Regions from separate parts of the Homo sapiens genome. Here region 1 is linked to region 2. Evidence: promoter capture Hi-C in human tissues and cell types (Jung and others, 2019). All regions are on one chromosome and are shown on one strand. Each heading gives the region's core, a stretch centred on a gene start or on the middle of the fragment in contact. The rest is flanking DNA. Distances are from core to core; before and after follow the strand shown.

The links. Contacts are between HindIII fragments. The study calls those that stand out against the background at their distance.
Region 1: a contact is called between a fragment that was not itself captured here and the fragment with the promoter of COL5A2 in region 2, in 2 of the 25 tissues and cell types used here (mesenchymal stem cells and neural progenitor cells).

Annotation. Positions count from the first base shown.
Region 1 is chr2:189,260,985-189,268,568 of GRCh38, forward strand. It overlaps a transcript of COL5A2 not described here. Among named protein-coding and RNA genes, the nearest start is that of COL5A2, 85 kb to the left of the region's middle. The HindIII fragment of the contact is 4,538 bases long and covers 3,167-7,584 here.
Region 2 is chr2:189,174,471-189,181,500 of GRCh38, forward strand. COL5A2 (collagen type V alpha 2 chain) reads right to left here and starts at 5,291. Exons shown (of 54, transcript NM_000393.5): 1 at 5,038-5,291. The coding sequence starts at 5,134. The HindIII fragment of the contact is 11,142 bases long and covers 3,346-7,030 here.

The DNA.
Region 1 (7,584 bases), core at 4,186-6,685, 87 kb after region 2:
TCCTTGAAAGACTGACATATCCATCTATTTGATATTTATTTCATTATAAAAATGTTTATAATTATTTTTAAATCCATTGAATTCCTCTAATCTGACACTTCACCCAAACTTTTCCATAAAAAATTACCGAGAATAAGAATTGCTTGATGTAACTCACAATCAATATAATCATGCGGATTCCATTCAGCATCTTTAGTGTTCTTACTAATTCTAACTAACTTGTATTAAGAACAATTAATACTGAAACCATCAAGCTGTTGCCATCAAGTTATGTATCCCTAATTGAAATTATATTTTTAAGCAAAATGATTCTGATATCTACATACATATGTTGAAAATAACATCCTAAGTAAGTACATTCTGGAAAACTATGCAGAAAATAATGGAAAAGTAAATACAAAAGATGTTCTGGAAAGACTGTTAGAAAAGTAATGAGATTTACAGATTGACTAAAACACCAGGAAAACCTCCAAAGAATATTTGACATTTGGTCAGTCAGTCAGAGGAGAGTTGGCAGTTGGTCAGGAAAAATGTGAATCATAAAAGTCTATCTCTTCCATTATACAATGCATATGAATCAGATGTCTGTTAGCTCGTTCTTGGTCTCAAACCTAAAGTCAGCAACTGCTTTATTTATTTGGCTTCATGACCCAGATTAGATTTCCTGTTCTTTCAACTTGTAATACGTGTAGCTCACACTCACACAGAATTTGGGGTAGAGTGTAATGATCCTCCCATCCATTCACACCATCTTTTATTTTGGCCAGTTGCTGGGGCAAAATTGCCATGTCTATCACCTACAGCAGAAATTTGGTCTTCCAGCCAAATATTAGGAAGCACAGTAGTGACTGCTATGGCAACAGACTAAACAGACCATCTAAAAGGTAGCTGGAAGAAGAGGTAAGCTATTTCAAATACAGAGAGGTAGGAAAGTTTAAATTTCTCAAATCCTAAAATATGAAAACCAAGAGCATACACATCATAGTTATGGCAATCTTGATGAAAATATAAATAATTATTTTCTATTATTGTTTTATCAATATTACTTTCTAAGAATTTGTTAAATGACTTAATCTCAGCTTCTAATGAGCTACAAATTCAAAAGAAAATTTCAAAATAATAACGCTTGTCCAGTTTCCAAATGCTGACTCCTTAAATAAGATTACATACAAATAATTTGAAATGATTTCATTCCTTTAGAGTTGTTCCCATCTAGCCTTCCAGTTGAAAAGAAAAATATTAGCAGCACCAAATGTAAGCAACAAAGGAAGAAAGGACACCACCTGTCCAAACCCTACCTTCAGTTTTTTTCTCTGAAAGCTTTTAGTTTTCTTGGTCCTTCCATTATAAACAAACACACACACAGACAGATACACACACATACATGCACACACACACACACATACACACTAGTTTACCAACTTTTTATCAGGACAAAGTTTTTTTAGTCACTTGTACAAAAGTATAAGATGATTGCCTGCTGTATTTGTGGGGTTGGCTGAAACTTTAAAACTGATCACGAAGAGAAACAGCATTTATGGTTCACCGACTAGTTCTCTAAAACAGTGAATCTAAGCCCTGTCTGGCTCAGTCTTCTTTATAAAAAATATTTTTTTAACATTCTTGTACTATCATGAAATTTTCAGAACATATAACTTACACACATACCTAATTTTAAATCCCTATATTGTTCTAATTACATAAGAACAATATAATCTAATTAATCCCTATATTGTTCTAATAAGAAATTTAAAAGGAATTTAAAATAAAATAAGTATTTCAATATTCAGATCCTCAACCATGATGACACTAGATGATGGGGACTAATAAGATTCTCATTATCAACCAATATGGATTTATAATAAGTAGGACAATATTCATCTGGTTATTGCAGATGCATTCTGATATTCAACATCTAGATATAAAAACTAAATTATTATGGTCAGATTAAATGTATGTCACAGTTGCATTCCAGAGAAATTTATTACATATTAAAACTATTCAGAAAATAATTGGTGTTTGCATATATAATGAAGTTGTTCCTATGCTCAAATAATTACAAATGGATTTTGTAATTGAATGACTGGCAAGACCTTCAGTCAAGCAGGACATAGGAGAATTCTTCCCTGCATTCCAGGAAATAAAGCATCTCCAATTTCCAGCCACTTGATGTCGTTTCAATTGTTATAACAAATAAAATGCTCTCAAAAACATCCAAAATTCCCCTAGAGAGAAGTATCCCATCCTCCACCACCAACCTTGAGAACCACAGGTCTAGAAGGAGATAGCTGGGCAACTTTAAACCCATATTGGATGTAAGGTGGGACATGAAGTGTTTCCTTTGGGGAGATTATAACAGAATATATGTGTGCCATTACAAATACAGTCATGTACTGCATAATACTTTAGTCGACAGTAGACAATATATACAATGGTAGTCCCATACGTTTATAATGGAGCTGAAAATTTCCTATTACCTAGTGACGTAGCTTTCCTAACATTGTGGTACAACTCATTACTCACATGTTTGTGGTGATTCTGGTGAAATAAATCTACTATGCTGCCAGTCACATAAAAGTGTAGAGTAATGCCCTAGGTCTTCACATTCACTCACTACTCACTCACTCAGAGCAATTTCTAGTGCTGCAACCTCCATTTATGGTACATGCCCAATACAGGTGTACCTTTTTAAATCTTTTATATCATATTTGTTACTATACCTTTTCTATGTTTAGATAGATTTAGATACACAAATACATACCATTGTGTTACAGTTGCCTAGAGTATTCAGTACAGTAACATGCTGTAAGGTTTGTATCCTACGTGTGTAGTAAGTAATCTAGGTTTGTCTAAGTACACTCTTTGATATTTGCACAGAAGAAATCACCTAATGAAGCATTTCTCAAAATATATCTCCATCATTAAGTGACACATAACTATACTTTCAAGTTCAAAGAATTGGAATATGCAAACTATGCTCTCTGACTATAAAGAAAATAAATCAAAAGTCAATAACAAAGATAAGTTTTAAATTAAGTATGTTCTCTGACTATAAAGAAAATAAATTGAAAGTCAATAACAAATATGTTTTAAATTAAGTATGTAAAAAATCAATTGCATTCTTACATACTAGCTACAAACAGCTAGAAAATACGTGTGTAAGATACAATTTATAATAGCAAAAATACAAAGAATGAAAGAAAATATAACAAAATGTGTAAAATAAGTCCAAGAGATAATATTATAAAATTTTATTGAAATTCATTAAAGAAAATCTAAATAATGGAAAACATTTAGTATGGATATTGAAAGGAAAACGGTATTCTGACCATGTCTGTTTTCAAGTGACATAAATGTGTAACATCAAATGATATACTATGCAGTCATGAAAATGAATAAACTACAGCTTTTTGAAGCAACATAGATAAATCTTAAAAACGTGTTTATAGAAAGAAGGGAAATTCTAAAGCATGTATACTGTTTGATTATATTTGTAGTAAACTCAAAAACAGGAAAAACTAAACTGTATTGTTTAGGGATGCATACATGATGGTAAAACCATAAAGAAAAGCAAAGAGACAGTTACAGTAAATCAGAATGGTGGTTAACTCTAGAGGGAAACAGACAGTGTATAATCACGAATAGCTTCAATAAGATAAATATATATGCAGCCCAATAAAAAAACAGGCAAGATATATGAATCCTTGGACTCATAAAAAGCAATAAAATTTAAATTTTAAGTTATTTCATAGTAAAACTGAAAAGACAAAAATCTTAAAAGCAATCAAAAAGAAAAGACAGATGACATACAAAGAACATTTATCACAAAATAACCTATTCAGAGTACTGAGGAAAAATATTGCCTAAAGAGAAATCTCCACTTAGCTAAATTACTGCACAAGCTGAAGTGTGAAAGAAAAATTTCAGAAAAAGACCTACTGGAAAATTGATCTTTTACTTAAGCAACCACAGTGGTATCGAGGAATATGTAAGATTGGTACTAGTTGCTTGAGCATGGTGAGGGAGCAGGCAGAGAGCCTCTTCAGAAAAGTTGGAAGGGGCCAAAGGTTACAAAAATCCCTGGGGGACCAAGATCATATAAAAACACTAATTCAAAATGAACCAGAGACCTAAGTATTATAAGAACAAAACTACAAAACTCTTGGAAGGAAGCATAAGAGTAAATCATTGTGACCTTAGATTGGGCAATTTCTTATGTGACATCAAAAGAACAATCAGCAAAAGAAAAAAATAGATTTACCAGATTAACATAAACTTGGTGCCTTACAACAACAGATATTTATTCTCACAGTTTGGAAAGCTAGAAGTCCAAAACCAAGGTGTCAGCGGAGCCATATTCTCTCTGAAGGGTCAAAGGAGCCCCCTTCCTTGACTCTCTTTAGCTTGCCACCAACCCTTTGTGTTCTTAACTTGTAGACACAGCCTTCCAATCTCCATCATCAAGTGACGTTCTCCATGTGTGTTCTGTATTCAAATTTTTCTTTTCTTATAAAGACACCAGTCAGTGGATTAGGGCCCATCCTAATCCAGTAAGACCTCATCTCAACTTAATTACATCTTCAAAGACCTTGTTTCCAAATGTGGTTACATTCAAAAGTACCTGGGGTTAAGACTTCAACAAATCTTTTATGGGACATAATACAACCTTCAGGAATCTCAACTTTGATAAAATAATTTCACCAAAGAAGATACACAAATACCTAATAAATGTATAAAAAGTGCTCATTATCATTAGCCACCAGGAAATCAAAATCACAATGTAATACCACTTAACACTCAGAGAAGTGGCTAGACTCATAAAACAAACAAAAACAGGTATTGGTGAGGAAGTGAAGAAACTGAAACTCTCTCATACACTGCTAGAAGGAATGTAAAATGTTGTAGCCACTTTGAAAAACAGTTTGGCATTTCCCCAAATAGTTAATCATAGAGTGACCATATGACCCAAATATTCCACTCTTAAATAAATGAAAACATACGTTTACACAAAAGCTTGTACACCAAAGTTTATATCACAATTATTAATAATAGCTAAAAGGTGAAAACAAGCCAAATGTCCATCAACTGATGAGTGGATAAATATTCATGTGGTATATCCATGCAAGGGAATATTATTCAGCCATAAAAAAGATGTAAAATAGGCTGGGTGTGGTGGCTGATGTCTGTAATCCCAGCACTTTGGTAGGCAGAGATGGGCTGATCATGAGGTCAGGAATTAGAGACCAGCCTGACCAACATGGTGAACCCCTGTCTCTACTAAAAATACAAAAATTAGCGGGGCATGGTGGCACGCACCTGTAATCCCAGCTACTGAAGAGGCTGAGGCAGGAGAATTGCCTGAACCTGGGAGGCGGAGGTTACAGTGAGCCGAGATTGTGCTGCTGCACTCCAGTCTGGATGACAGAGCAAGACTTCATCTCAAAAAAAAAAAAAGATATGAAATATAGATACATGCAACCACATGGATGACCCTTAAAAACTTTCTGCTAAGTGCAAGAACCCTGAAGACATAAAAGGCCATGTATTTTATGATCCTAAATCTATGAAGTGTCCAAAATAGGCAAATATCTAGATACAGAAAGTAGATTAGTGGTTGTTAGAGGCAGGAATGAGGGGAAAATAAGGAATGACTGCTCATGGGAATAGGGTGTGTTTTGGGGATGGGGTGATGAAAATATTCTAAAATTACATATTAGGATGCTTGAACTCTGTGAATATATGAAAAAATACTGAATTATACACTTTAAAGAGGTGAATTTATGGTATATGAGTTATACCTCAAAAGATGTTATAAAAGATATGTTAAAATACTGCTCAAAAGCACTTTCTGTCACTAGGTAGTCAAATGAAATATATAGATAATCTATGACCAGTCATTCTACTCCTAGGTACATATATGCAAAAATTCTTGGACAGTTAACATAAAATCTCTAAAAATATTTGTTATATTAATGAAAATAAATATTATATTAAAACAAATATACATATAATATTAATAAAATGATAAATGAATTGATAAAAAGCATTGGGCTATGAAACCAACAAGAATATATAATACAATGCCAAGAATCTTATGGTGGTGGGTTTGGTTGGCCTATTTGATTTGATAGAGTTATTTTCATAGTTGGCCAAATGACTTTTAGTAAACCACTTATTTTTGACCCTAAAAGCATTTCTGTAAATATAAATATAATGTAAGACACACATTGCCTGCATCCATACTCTTGCCTTGGTAGGAGTCAGATGAAGTATACAGATAATCTATGACCAGCCTAGAAGGTATATTTTTCCAAAAATTCTTAGACTGTTACATAAAATCTCTAAAAATATTTATTATAGTGTAATATGTAGTACTGGCAAGTTGGAGGCAACCTGGGTGTTCATCGCTACATATTTGCTTATTAAAAATACAATCACAAAACATTCATCTTGCAAAAACACATACAAATGAAAAGGAACATGCTAAATGCATTTTTTAAATAATTGCCTAAGAAGAAGAAAATAGGAGCAATAAATATAGGAATAAAAGAGAACTAATTATTTTCATGTAACGTACCCATCATTTTTAAAAAGCAATAGAATAAGAAGGCCAGGAAATTGGGGAATGAGGATACTGAATGTGGAGCACAGTGGGGTTGATGCCTGAGACTGGACTTTTACATGCTCCTGGAGACATGATTCACAAAGGCAGGGTGACTCCTACCAAGTCCAGAGTAAATGCGGGCAATGTGTGTCTCACATTATATTTATATTTACAGAAAAGCTTTTAGGGTCAAACATAAATGGTTTACTAAAAGTCATTTGGCCAACTATGAAAATAAATCAAGTAGGCCAACCAAACCCACCACCAAAAGATTCTTGGCATATATTATATATTCTTGTTGGTTGCATAGCCCAGTGCTTTTTTATCAATCCATTTATCCTTTCATTAAATATTTTTATACATTATGATTCCTTCTGTATTATCTTTATTGACTATTTAATACAAAGATGCATCTCCAGATATGTGGGCTTTATATGTTTCCCTATCCCAAAGTGGCATTAAAAATTATGTTATCCACTGTCTTTTTACATTCAGTAAATAGTATTCAGATAGAGTTCTGGTTTTATTTGTTCCCATACTCTTTGAGTCACAGTACTTTTGAAATAAATTTTAAAAGGAAGTTCTTCATTAGTATGAACTCTTTGTTTAGTCAGAATTACAACCATCAAACTAAGAGTTCTAAGAAAATTGGCATTGTTTCCACAAGAAACAAATGGTATCACTTCATTTTTAAGATATAACATTCTCTTCTCTTTGGATAAAACATTTTGTTGCCTAAAATTGTCAGTAGTTCCAGCACCATTTCTCTGGCTAACTGAATATGTGGCAGAAGTTTAAATTGTTTCCAGACCTCATGCTATTTTTATATTAGTCATCAGAAAAAATTCTATTCAGCATACTCTTCCCTCAGAAACAATTTTTCAGACAAACACCCTACATCTGAGAAGTAAGAAGCAACTGGAATTGGCATTCAGAGAAAATCCATGTTTAACAACTGCAGATTTGCTGCTAATGAATAG
Region 2 (7,030 bases), core at 4,041-6,540:
ATAGCAAGTTATTACCAAAATCTTAATGTGTAGCCTCGGAACATAAAAGCCAACAGGTCCACAACAAGATTCAGAGTGTCAGTCAAAGATTTAATACAGTGGTTCACCAATGTAAATCAGAGTCAACTGGAGAGCTCTAAAAACATACAGATGCCCAGACCCCATCCAAACTTCCTAGATATTTGGAAAGTAGAGGGGTCTAGAATCTATATTAGTCACAAGATCTTAGGTGATTCTTTATACCATTTTTTATCAACACTGATCTGTGGCTTGCTTACCAATGACCCTACGAGTCATGGTCCAAGTATACATTGTGTTAGTCAATATTAAAAATTCACTAAATCTATGAATCTACCAATGTACATATGTAGAAAGAGATATACTCTTCAAACTAAAGCTTCAGTTTAGTTTGAATAGAAGTTATAGGTGTCAAAATTTATCTAAAGACAAGAAGCAAAGAAAATGTAGCCTAATATTTATGTGCCATTCAGTCTTCTTGGCTTCACAGTCTACTCAGTAATGAACAATAACCAAAGTGGATCTAGTCACACAACTATATTTTGTCCATTGAAACCGTAAGATCTAGGCCACTAAAAGTAGCTGACCTTTTTGCTCACTGAGGTAGGGACCATAAAACTCCTAATAGTGGTGCTTCCTTTTATCCTTCATAGCAGAACTCAATTCAGTAGAGTATATTGCCAGCACCACCCAGGTAAGGGCTACATTTCCTAGCCCCTCTTGAAGTTTTGTGTGACCATATGACTAAATTCCGGCCAACTGTAAGTAAGTTTAAATGTTATGAAGACTTTAAAGTCTTCATAAAAGGGGGCAGGGTGGGGAATGGCTCACAGTTTTTGTTTTCCATCCTCTATCCACATGCCTAGAAAGTACACGCAATGGCTGGAGCTTCAGCAGCCATTTAGGACCATAAAAATAAATTTAAAAAAAAATACCTAGAGATATGGGAGCCAGGAGAGGTAGAAAAAACCTCAGTCCCTGATGACTTTGTGGAGCCAATATGCCAGCCTTTCACTACCTGCTTAAAAGCATTTCTTTATATTTAAAAAAGAAAACTTTTTTTTTTTTTTTTTTAGACAGAGTCTCACTCTGTCACCCAGACTGGAGTGCAGTGGCACGGTCTCAGCTCACTGCAACCTCCGCCTCCCGGGTTCTAGCAACTCTCGTGCCTCAGTCTCCTGAGTAGCTGGGACCACGCCTACCTAATTTTTGTGCCACCACGCCTACCTAATTTTTGTATTTTGGGTAGGGACGGAGTTTTGCCATATTGGCCGGGCTGGTCTCGAACTCCTGACCTCAGGTGATCCGCCCACCTCGGCCTCCCAAAGTGCTGGGATTACAGGCATGAGCCACTGCGCCTGGCCAGAAAACCTTTTTTTGTTTGTTTAAACTACTGTGTTCTGCTACATGTACCCACTATAAAAGTCTGAATGTCCTACATGTTTCATAGCATGTATTTCAACAGTAATGAGTTTAAAACAATTTATGAGTTAACATGCATCTTAAGCTATGTATACATATTTATACATATTCTGTACCTCCTTTAAAATGATGTCATCCAAATACTACTGAGTGTTAAATATCTGCTTCCTGATTTTTGTATCGTAACAATGAGATAAATGGCAGACATATCATAAAAATGCAAGAGACCATGACATATAAGACTGTGAGCCCCTCATCTCTCAGTAATCAAAAGTTAGCTTGGGTCCAGGAGGATATCAGTGTAGGATTGCAACATGATGGCTGTAAATTCATGGGCCGGGAGCCAAATATATACTCAGATATATTTTATTTGTCATATGCAATATCTTCTGAAAATGTTAATTCTGAATGCCTTAAAGTGGACATGCACCTTCAGTTCTCCACAGGCCCCATCATCACCTATTGATGTACAAACACTGGCTTGCTTCACTTGTTTATATTACCTGCCTGGCCTCTGAAAGCATTGAGGTTTACAGTATTTGGAAACAAAATGATACATTTCTGCACCTTCCCTTCTCCATTGCTTATCCCATGTTGAATACAATGATTCATAACAAAGATTATTTTCTAAAATTAAGCATGCCTACTTCTAATAACAAGAATATATATAGCTCACTAGATGCTAGGCATTAACTTAGGAATATAAATACACTGTAAATGCTCTAGCATTTTCCTTAACACAAATGTGGAATCTTTTGAAGACCACCACCCCAATGCACACACACTCTCACCACACGCACACACACACGCACACACACTCTTTAAAAGCTGATTTTGTCATTTTAACTCCCTGATTTTTCACACACACACATACACCCACACAAACTCTTTAAAAGCTGATTTTTTTCATTTTAACTCCCTAATTTTTGTTACGTTAGTTTTAACTAAAGTCAGCCCAACTCCCAAACTTTCTCCTTTCAGTTTCTTATAAATTTAGAAAATCAAATCAGTTCTTAAAACTCAGTGAGAATGGAACTGATTTTGGCTTAAAATGCCTAAAACTTTATTTATTTACTTTTATCTTCTCATTCATATGTTTCTATCAGGCAGGCATACTCAGATTACATTTTACATTTCTGGTAAATAACCACAGTCAAGTAAAGGGAAATATACCCTGAAGTCATAAAAAGAAAGAAAAAAATAAAAACTTATTAATATGCACTTACATGCAAAAACAGATCTCCACATTTCCAAGAAGACATATTTGTACAAAATGTAAATATCACATTATGTGACTGTTATAGATAAAATTTGAAAAATGTACTTGCTTTTCATGTGTGCCTCAGATATTTCTTTAATTTAAAGCATCGATCTAAGCTTACTCTTCCCCAAACTCAAAATCAAATGGAGTTTCTAAATTATGACACCTTTATTAAGCTTGTGATAGGCCTGAACAGGAAAAAGAAAGTATTGCCAAGTATCCATACAATATCAACTTAAACCAAAATATGCATAGTAAGTAAGTACAATATAAGTTAAGCAGCTCTGAATATACTATACTCTGGAATTATTTTCTCTATTATGTTTGATTAGGGCAATGACGACTTTCTTTTGCTGTTGAATTTTTATCACTTATATTCTCTTAAGTTGAGAAATAAAATACTGGAATTTTTTACAACACATATGCAAGCAATTACACATTCTGTAAAATTTGATGTTTGGAATTCCATTTTCTGTGCTATTTGGTTATACTGTTCGCGGGGGGTACTGGGGTTGGATTGGAGTTGGGGACTTTTTTGCATCAAGCATCACATTCCTTACATTTATGTCAATTACTATTAAGAAAAATTATCTGCTCATTTTTCAAAAACACCTACAGAGTAATTATAACTATTTGGGAATGTCTTTTAAAATATGGCTTATTTCATGTACCTTGTGAAACAGTCCTTTCATTTATTCACATATTCAATTATTTCCATACTTTATTAAAGTACTTTATTCATTTTAACATAAATTAACAAAGAAAGTGGTATTAAAGGTTTTAAATTAAAGTTGGTTGTTTTGGTGGGGGAGGGGAGTAAACTGTTCTTTCTAGAGTCAAATTTTCAATTTCTATTGTAATTTTTCTGTGTTTTTCTCCTCCTGTTTTCTTCTACTTTCTATTCAATTATTTTTGCCACCCTTCCAAACAACACATGCTTTTCATGCCATTACAAAGAAACTCAAAAGTTTTCACCTTTTATAAATTACCTCATATTTTAAAAACATAAAACGTAACATAAAAAGCTCCAAGTCTTAGAAAGTGCCCCCTCTATGGGACTCCTGACAGATTGTTGGATATTCATTTACAAATTCGTATTTTCACTTTTTAAGCTTTTTAGAACTTCTGATCTCTAGATTAATTTTATAAACTTTTTGAAACCAAAAACACACAGAAGCAGATATTTGTTCTAAAAATATAGATATATACATAGTATATATACATATATACCTGTATGTATGTGTCTATATATGAAAGTAATAGAAAAGGTTAATGAATGTCCAAAGTTTTAAAAGCTTGAGTTTGATGTTACATGGTTGAGTTGATGAAAATCTACAGTGGCTTATTTTAAAGGAGTACATGTCTGTATTTGAAATTGCAACCCTCAAGATTAAAGATTTAATAGAGGAATCAATTTAAATATTTTCTTATATACTACAACAGCTATGCATTTTTGCTTAACCATACCATATAACCCAACTGTAACATATGAAAATTGCATAGGAAAAAAATGTGGTCACCAGGCAAGATTTATCTTTAAAAAAAAAAAAAAAAAAAAGCTTGGGTCTAAGGGGTAATGTCCATGCAAATATTCCATGCCAAATAAGATATATACAAGACATGCTGATTTCCTGCCTTCCGCCATCCAACCGGGAACCACCACTGTCCTGTTAATCAAGCCAGTAGGGTGGGAAAATACCACTGTTTAAGAAATCTGGCTTCTATCAGCCTCTGTCATGGAGAAACAAACGAGACTGCCTCCCAGTAAGCAAAAGTGATCACATTTTCACAAATGAAAATGGTAAAAAGAAGTTTAAATTGTTAAAGAGGAAAGAATGAGGAGCCAAAGACAAAGAAAAATCAAAGCTATCAGAGTTGCTGCAGAGGTTTTACTAAACAAAGAATTTTATGAAGCAGCTGAAGTTCAGTACAAAAAGACTCCACCCTACCCAGCTTCTGCCGCGACTTTTCCTTGCTCTGAAAACTCCAGCCCACAGAACAGAGCTCCTCTAACTAAAATGCCTTTAGTGCTCCGTTTTAAGCATTCACTCTTTTCTTATTTTAAACGTCCCACTCTCACACTCAGCCAAAAGGACTTATTGTAGGCTTTCCCAGAAAAATTTAGTAGTGTACTCTCTCCAACGGTGGATCTAGAAGCTCCGGATTTACAAACATCCCAATTGTCTTTCAAGTCGTTTTCCAGGTGCAAATCCGTCAGCCCCCTTCTCAAACTTCAAACCAGAACCTCCTCTTCACGCTCTTCCTGAGGCTTAACATTCCACCTATTTCCCAAACCGTGCAATAAACACTACAAGCAAAGCAAATGGCAAACTCACCATCCTCGTCTTCTTCCTGGGCTTTTATTGAGACAAATTGCCCTAATAAAACAATAAGAATGAGGAGAGGTCTTGCTTCCGCCCAGTTTGCCATCATGTCTAAATATTAGACATGTGGGTTCTCCTGAGAGTGAAAAGTAGATTCTGAGGTTATTGTAGCACCATGAAGTCAGCTGTGGGCTCTTCTTTCAGCACCAGCCCCAGGGCAGCCTCTGCAAACCCCCTTTTTCAGCACCAGCTCCAGCACAGTCTGCGAAAACTTTTTTCAAGCGATGCAGCTTTAAATAGGAAGAATGCTGCCTCCACTTCTTTTCCTGCCCCTTTTCAGCTTGTTCAGGCTCATAACCATCCAGTGTCTGCCAAGCAACGGTCTGATTGATGGTAAACAACCAAATCAGAACACGCGTCTCTGTGCCTGAACTTTCCCTATTTCATTTAACTTTTAAGCATAGATGGGGCTTAATAACAGAAACAAACATTTGTTTCTCTTTTCTTTTATTTTTTAAGAAAGGCTGTTAGAAGAAAAGGGTTCTATTTTCCCCTCCCTAACCCTTCCCCCCAGACACACACCCTTTAACTTTTCCCCTATAAGCTGAAAAAGACATTCCGAAGGAAATCCAGCCTTTTACCCTAGTTTTTTTACATTTAGATAATTCAAGACTCTCTTCTCCACCTTAAATCTTTAAACAATCACATTTTAACCCTTTCTTTTGACTGAATAGGGAGTATTCTTATCCCCTTCTCAGATTCGGTTTCTTTTCCCATACTCTGGAAGGAGATTATTAGAATGTTGCCCAGGTAAAGTCCAGGTTAGAAAACCATTTTGGATAAATGAATTTGTGATACATTGTAATTTGAATTAAGAAAGCATGTCCTTTCCTAATTTCTCCACATCTCTTGTTAAGGGGCCACATCTTCAGGTTCCTCTTGTCCCAGAGAGTTTTACCATGTTGAAAAATAGTCTACTAAGCAGTGCAGAGGAATGGGAAGTACTCTACCTTTGGATGAAAAAAGGCTTGCTTCTGCCTTTTGTGAGTGGTTCTGCCACTCAATAATTTTGTAAATGTGCATATAGTCCTTTATCTCTGTGCACTCCAATTTTCTCATTTGAGAAAAGGGCTTTACCCTGACCAGTGTACAGGGTTTAGTGACACTAAAATGAGTAATGTATTATTAATGAAGCTCCAAATTGCAAAGAGCTACATAAAAGCAGATGGTGGTATTATTAGCTTTAAGCCAGCTTTGCAGGGAATATGATAGCCCCAGTTGAACATGCATTTTAAGGAAAATTATCGATGAACTTTTGTGCCACCCTCACACTTGCCAAGATCTTAATGACCTCAGAGAGTTCTATACAATCTAATGTATTTGCCACCTTGAGTCTCCCTAGAATCAGGATGGATGTTCTATACAATACAAGTGAGTCAATTGTTTATAATTATTGGGCAACAGGTGCCTTGCACTGTGCTAAGCACTGGGCAGAAAGGATGACATAAAAGAAATAAAAGACATACCCATCACCTTCAAGGAACATATGTAGGTGTTGAGAAACTAAATTTACAAGAAATAAAGATATATAAGCCAGAGCATATAAATATGTGAGGGATGCATTAAGCCCGGAGAAAGGAGAAATTATCAAATGAGATTAGGCAAGCAAGACATTATTACTGTTCTTAATAGAAGAAATCCAAGAACCTTTGCATTTTAGCTTTGGAACTAGACTCTGGATAAATATTCCAGTGGAGGTCAATTTTCCCGGTTGTTTCCAGCTTCTAACCCTGTACCTCTCAGTTTATCTTTTCATTTAGACATGTCCCATTTCAATGACTTCTGTCACCACCACACTGTTCTCAGGGGTGCCCTTCCACTTAATGAATGGGCTAAGTAAGGACCAAAAATCACCTTTCAGTTAATTCTTTCTAGAATATCTTAGAGAGGCTAGGACTTGAAATCCATCTGACTATATATTCAAAGATAACAGGAAGATAAGTAA